Regions from separate parts of the Homo sapiens genome. Here region 2 is linked to region 1. The links are contacts of gene promoters, found by promoter capture Hi-C in blood cells and fetal thymus (Javierre and others, 2016). All regions are on one chromosome and are shown on one strand. The core of a region is centred on a gene start or on the middle of the fragment in contact, and the rest is flanking DNA. Distances in the headings are between cores, read along the strand shown.

Region 1 (3,311 bases), core at 643-3,142:
AGTGCAGGTAAGTCAGTAAGATAGGTCTACTTATTAGAGAAAATGAAGGGAGGAGGGCAGATATGTAGTTGGGTGGAGCATAAATGGAAGAAAATGAGACAAATTTACATTTCTCTTCTATTTTCTGGCTTTTTTATTTTCCCTGGGTCAGCTACCACCTTTCCATGCCATCTTTTCTAGATTCTGAAACCAACATCTGACAAAGGCAAGGTCCTGGTGTCGGCCTGGGACATTTACTAGATTTTTGACCCTGAACAAGGAAGTTACCTAACTTCCCTGAGCCTCTATTTCATCATGTGTGAAATGAGAATAATAGCGCACATGTTGATTTGTGGGCTAAAGGAGACCTGAAGGTAAAGAGCCCCACATGGGTCTGAGCCCCATGCAGCCACCATGATTCACTGCTGTCCCCAAGCACATCCTGGTGCCTGAAATCCTGAAGAGTTGGCTTTCACCACTGCAGAGGCTCTGAGTGAGCTGCCAGGGCAGCAGAGGGAGGCTGAGCTGCAGGAGTGCTGTTAATGGATTTTATGGCTTTGTTGAGTACCTCAAACTACAGTTATTAATTAGAGGATGCTGTTTAGGCACTCTTGCAATATATACATTTTGTTAATTGATTTGTATAGGCTCATAGCTAGCAACATAAAGAATGTGCAGGACCATAACACTTACAAGGGATTGTAATTGCCTTTGCTGCCCTCTCTGGCTCCCCAAGCAGGGAACAAAAGCTTTGAGGATAGGACCCACTCTCTCCTCTGTCTTTGGATCTCCAACGACTAATCCAGTGCTCACTGTCAGGGTGATACAGCCTGTCTAGATGCTCAGCAAACGTCTTGAATCAATGACTAAATAAATAATATTGTTTGTTTCTGTATTTCCATATCTACTTTATTTCCAAACTATTCCTCATAAACCCTGCATTGTGTGTGATGTTGGCATTTCATTTAGGTAAATATGGTCAAGGATTTATTCTGAGTCCTTACTGTTTTTTTTTTTTTTTTTTTTGAGTACCTTTGTAATTTTTTCACGGCCTAGAGATGGTTGAGGATGCAAAGATATGCACTGGCTCCTGCACTCAGGGAACTGACAATACTCAACGGCACGAGATTTTACAATGCATGACGTCAAGTAGCCTGTTCTTAGAGATGCGGAGTGACAACATAAAGGTGGCAACTTCTTGCATGGCACCATACCGCAGGGAATTTTAAGTTTGACACCCCGCCCCCGCCACTGCAGCCTCAGCAGGCCCAGCACCCCAAGTTTTCTGATCTAGCTGTTCTATCAGCCTCTAAGAGCCGCGGCTGCCCCTGCTTCTCGGAGATGACGCGGAGCCCTGCCATTGCCATCCAGGTCCAAGGCTATCTACTCTGCCCGACAACCCCTAGCACCACTAGGCGCTGCTCTAGTGTGCGCCTGGCGCCCTCCCCAGACCAGTCGACGCAGAACGCCCAGAGACCCAGCCAAGGGCAAGACCCTTAGCGACGCCCGTCAGTCCTCTCCGCCCAGATATCAGTTCAAAGGGCATGGCAGGTCAGGGTCCCTCGCGCCACCCCAGATGACCCTCAGGCCTCGGGTGGCCACTTTCTGGGGGAGCCCTCCATCCCTTGCGGCAGCTTTTCCGAGAGTCGGAGTGGAGGCGCGGGGCTGGAGGGCTCTCCGGAGCCGCCCACCAGGGTCCTCTGGGGGCCCGGTCCCGACTGGGCAGGGGGACCTGGACAGGGCCCCGGAGCGTGGAGACGGCTGAGGAAAGTTGGGGGTCGGGGCCTTGGGGCGGGGAGCGCGGAACCCGGCGCCGATGCCCGCGTTCATGAATATGCACGAGCCACCTCCCTCCCTCCGTGACGTCACGGGCCGTCCCGGGGTGAGCGCCTGAGCCGCTCCGGGTCCGCGCCAGTGAGCGCGGCTGCTGCCGGCGAGCTAGCGGCGCAGCGGCGGGAACCCGAGGCCGAGCGCCGCGGCGGCAGCGCTAGAAGCGCACCCATCGGGCACGGCGAGGCGGCCCACGGTGCGGCAGGCACCGGGAGGCGAGAGCCGGCGCGGACAGTAGGCGGCGGCTGCAGCTCGTTGGCGGCTGCTGCGAGGATGCTGCCTGGGCGGCTGTGCTGGGTGCCGCTCCTGCTGGCGCTGGGCGTGGGGAGCGGCAGCGGCGGTGGCGGGGACAGCCGGCAGCGCCGCCTCCTCGCGGCTAAAGGTGGGTGCTGGGGAAGTTTGCTCTTCTCCCAGGAGGGAGGCAGGGCAGGCTTGAGGGTGAAAGCGGCAAGGACCTAGGCTCAAGCTGGATTTGCCCACCCTCCCTTGCCGCAGCTTCTTTGGCCTCTGTGCGCCCTGGATTCCCGAAGTCAGTTCCCTGCGCAGCGGACCAGAGAGGTCCACCCGCGGACGTCAACTCAACCCCTGGGCGGGGTCCGGGGGCTGAGCAGAAGGCGAGGTCTGGGGAGTACGGACAACTTTGAGGGCTGTCTGTGCCGGGGTGGGAGCGCAGTGGGTGAGTTTCGAGCTCTGGCCCAGGGACGGCTAGAGCAGGGCGCTGGCGCGCCGTGGGGACAAGCAGGTGTCTGCTCCTGCCTGGGGGAAGGATCAGCGGCGGTGCTTTCAAGGAGGGAGCCGAGCTGTGACTTGTCTCCCAGCTCGGGGATGGAGTGGAAACTTGTAGGCTCCAGGGAAGGCCCCGCTGACACTCCTCAAGCTCCCCCAGGGCGTCTCTGACTCCCCGGGGAACGTGTACCCTCCGGGTAGGCGGCGGGGTCCGGAAGAAGCGCGGGATGTGAGGCTCCCCGCTGCCTTTCCTACTCCGCTCTGACTACCGAGGACCGAGGAGCCTAACCTGGCACCACTCCCCTGCCCACCCTGTTCCTTTGAAGAGCTTGACCTCCCCGCGCCTCCCGCCCGGAAGGAAGCTAGATCCAAGCGAACGCCTGGCTCTGTCAGGCGAGCCTGGAAGCCGGCGAACCCCGGACTTTGACAGCTGCCTGGGAGCGTCGGGAGCTCTGGGGTGGGGGGCCGGGTCTGAAACAGGAGGTCACGTGCTTGCAGGGGGTGGGGAGGCGAGGGAAGAGCAGAGCTGGTGGGGAACAGTGGTGGGCTCAGGGGAGGCTGTGGCAGATCCTAGCTGGGGCGCACAGCTTAGTGATAACTTGTTGATTCTCTGCGCTGTTCATAAGTAGGGCTTGCGTTTGGTTTGTGGACTGTGGCCAAATCCGCCAGGTGACAATGAGGGGTACTTGGTCCCCAAATCCTGCCTGGCAATCATCAGAGGGCGGAGGGGTTTGCGCCTGTCAGAAAATAGATTCCCTGTTAGAGACAGCCTGATT
Region 2 (3,041 bases), core at 129-2,628, 490 kb before region 1:
CCCTCTTTAAAAAAAAAAAAAAAAAAAGAAAAAGCTTGTCTATCTGCCTTCCTTGAGCCAAGAGGCTTTTGAGGTACCTGAAGCACTGTGGGATAAGGAAGACACAGAAGAAAGGAGACTGGGTTATGTTTGCTTCTTAGTGAGTGGCCACTTTGCTTGTCCTTAGGACAATTCTTCAGCCATGAGCCCTCAGGTTGTCTCAGGAACAGCTGCTTGGCCTGAAGTGACCTATGACCAGCTGGGCAGGCAGCTGATGGGACACTGGAGTTGTGGCAGTTGAAATGTTTTGAAAATCAGAATGAGGCCTTTAGAATCAGCACCCAGCAGCTTATTGACCAGGCAGCCTTGGGGCATTGTCTCTCATCCCTAGCCTCGGTTCCCTTGTCCATAAAATGGAGTTAATGGAACATACATTATAGGGCCATTGTAGGGATCGGATAAAATAATGTACATTAAAGATAATAAATGTCAGTTCCCTACTCAAAGTTTTTCCATTGTGCTGTTAAAATTGGACTTTCATTTTATTGATGATTGGACCTTGGTTTGAGGGCAAATGTATTTGGAAATGTTTGTGGCAGGATGAATGTCTTCTATGCCTCCCAGTCTGTACCTACATACCTCGCCTTCAGCACACTTCAGGATTTCACTACTGCTGGGAGGTTTAGGATTTTATTATTCATTTCCAGAACTTGATTTCCATGTGCATTATCTTGTTTGATACATGAGAAACAACAGAATTTTACTGTAATTTCTATGAATAGAACATGATTAAACAGTTGTCAGAAAATCAGAACAAAAGAGAATGCTTTATACTCAAAAGGCTTGCAATCAGCAATAAAAGGTCAGAATGGTGTCTGTCATCTGAGATGGAGTGGGGTTTCCATTACCCCCTCTGGGTGACAGACTCTTGGTTACCAGCTTTTCATCTCTGGATTTCAGCACAATTAAACAGCAGACTCAGTCTGCTGCCCCAGGCTGAAACACAAGTTGAGCACATGTGGCTACTTCTAGTTTATTCAGAGCAGCAATTTGAATTTAAAAAAATAATTAAGATGAGTTAACCAGTCCTCCATGCTCTTTTTGGAGGGACAGTCTGTCCTGAGGTATGGTGGATACCTTCTCTCTAAAGTCAGTTTAACATAGGAACCCAGCAAAACGGAATTGCTCACCAGATTAGAGTTTCGGAAACAATGTTTACAACAAAAAATATTTTGTGGCAACTAGTATACCAAAGCAGTGAATTCAAAGAGCTGGGTTCCAGTTCAGGCACCAAGCATGTATGCCATGGAATCCAGGATTAAATCAGAACAAATAAACAGGCAGTTTTGTCTCAGATGACAACACGTATGCTTTTCATGGAATTAATGTTAAAAGATGGATATACAATAAACCCTGGACACATGCTTAGGCTGGGGCTTCGGAATTCAAAAACATAGGCAGAGCCATGCCATAACTTTCTTAAGTCAGAGTTCCCTGACCAGGCAGATTTCCCCTCTGTTGGAGTGGGTGTGTGAGAGTACAGGTTTGACGTCTTGAAAGTCACAAACATCCTCTGTATGAGAGGAGGGGAATGAAGAAGGGCCTGTGTCGGGTTGAACACAGTTAGGTAGTGATGACGCTGATGAATCAATAGCCACCAAATTGTCCAGCATTGAGGTCAAATGCTTCATGAATTTGGTCATTGGTAACCATGGCATTAGTAGCATGGCCCATTGTGAGTGTGACTCTGTGTGTGTGTGTGACTGTGTGTGTGTGTGCTTGCATGTATACACATTCAGTGGAATGAGAACAGAAATAAGACATTTTGAACAATTACCCAATTAGCTGTCCTACAATTACGGGAATGTGACATTCAGTTAAAAATGCAAGGATCATTTTATGTTAAATTGCTCATTTTGAAAGCATCCTCTTGGCTCAGTCGCCATGCCAACTGGTTCGTAAAGTGGTGCCCATTGCTTTTGAGAGGCAGGACAAGATAGTATCCTTCATACCATGCCTGAGCCAGCTTTCTTATTTAGCAGAGTTGAAAGCAGGGAGGGAAAGGGTTGTGGTTGGGAGCTGGGGGCTCAGCCAGATTCCCCTTTCAGTGATTTCTCAGGCATGAGGATGACCTGCCTTGGCCACTGCATCTGAGGAAATATTGCAGGGGAGAGGCAGGGCAGGGCTGGGAGACTGCCTGAGCAGGGATGTCATTGTACAGTCAGTTAGAGGTCTCTTTTTAAAGCAGGGTGATGTATGGCAAAAAATGAAAGACAAGTGAATAGGAGCAAAATGGCAGGTTCCAGAGAGTCAGCAGCATCACTGATTGGGGTCCAGCTGGACGCTCACCAATAATTCCTCCTGGCATCCAGAAAGCCACGATGGGGGCAGAACCTAAAAATCCTTCTTCCTCTTCTTTGTTTTCAAGTGCCTCTTCTCATGGTCTGACCTGCTCAGCCACCCAGAGCCCATCTCTAGGGCATACAAGAACCTCAGTTTTCTTTGGCATCATTCCCTGCTGGCCTCATGCGCACCCACTGCCCACCCATAAAGAGAACACAAGCCTGAATACAGTGGAGCCCACTATTCCCACATGTATCATTTTCACATTCTGGAGCTCAGAAAGAAGCAGCTGAGTAGAATCAGGATTTCAAAGGACACCAGGCCTCTGCTTCTGACTTGGGTGGCAGCTCAGATCCTAGAGCCTGGAGAGGGCTCTGCATCCAGTGAATGCTTAACAAACAAAAGCTTATCTGACATGGAATTCCTGAGAAAGCCCCATTAGCCAATGCTCTTCTCTCCTGCACTATGAAATGTAGTGCTCATAACAGTCCTATTGTAGGACATTAACCAGCACTTGCTTAAAGCAAGGGGGGCTTTCCAATCTGTGTTTATTGCAGGCTCTGCTGCTCCACAGCTGGGAAATGTGGACAGGTTCCTTGGGTGTTCTGAGCATCAGAGAGCCTTGTCTGTAAAATGGGGATAAAAATGCTACCTACCCCACTGAGTTATTGTGAGGACTAAATGAGCAAATGCATGGGAGGGGTCTAGCTCTGTGCCTG

What was found. Contacts are between HindIII fragments. The CHiCAGO score rates a contact against its expected background, and 5 or more counts as called.
Region 2: a contact is called between a fragment that was not itself captured here and the fragment with the promoter of CLSTN2 in region 1, in 2 of 17 cell types (erythroblasts and megakaryocytes). The highest score is 5.9, in erythroblasts.

The regions. Positions count from the first base shown.
Region 1 is chr3:139,933,293-139,936,603 of GRCh38, forward strand. CLSTN2 (calsyntenin 2) reads left to right here and starts at 1,893. Exons shown (of 17, transcript NM_022131.3): 1 at 1,893-2,191. The coding sequence starts at 2,083. RefSeq lists silencers at 1,891-1,940, 1,981-2,040. The HindIII fragment of the contact is 3,275 bases long and covers 727-3,311 here.
Region 2 is chr3:139,439,244-139,442,284 of GRCh38, forward strand. All of the region lies in intron 3 of COPB2-DT (COPB2 divergent transcript), which reads left to right. Among named protein-coding and RNA genes, the nearest start is that of RBP2, 36 kb to the right of the region's middle. The HindIII fragment of the contact is 2,693 bases long and covers 33-2,725 here.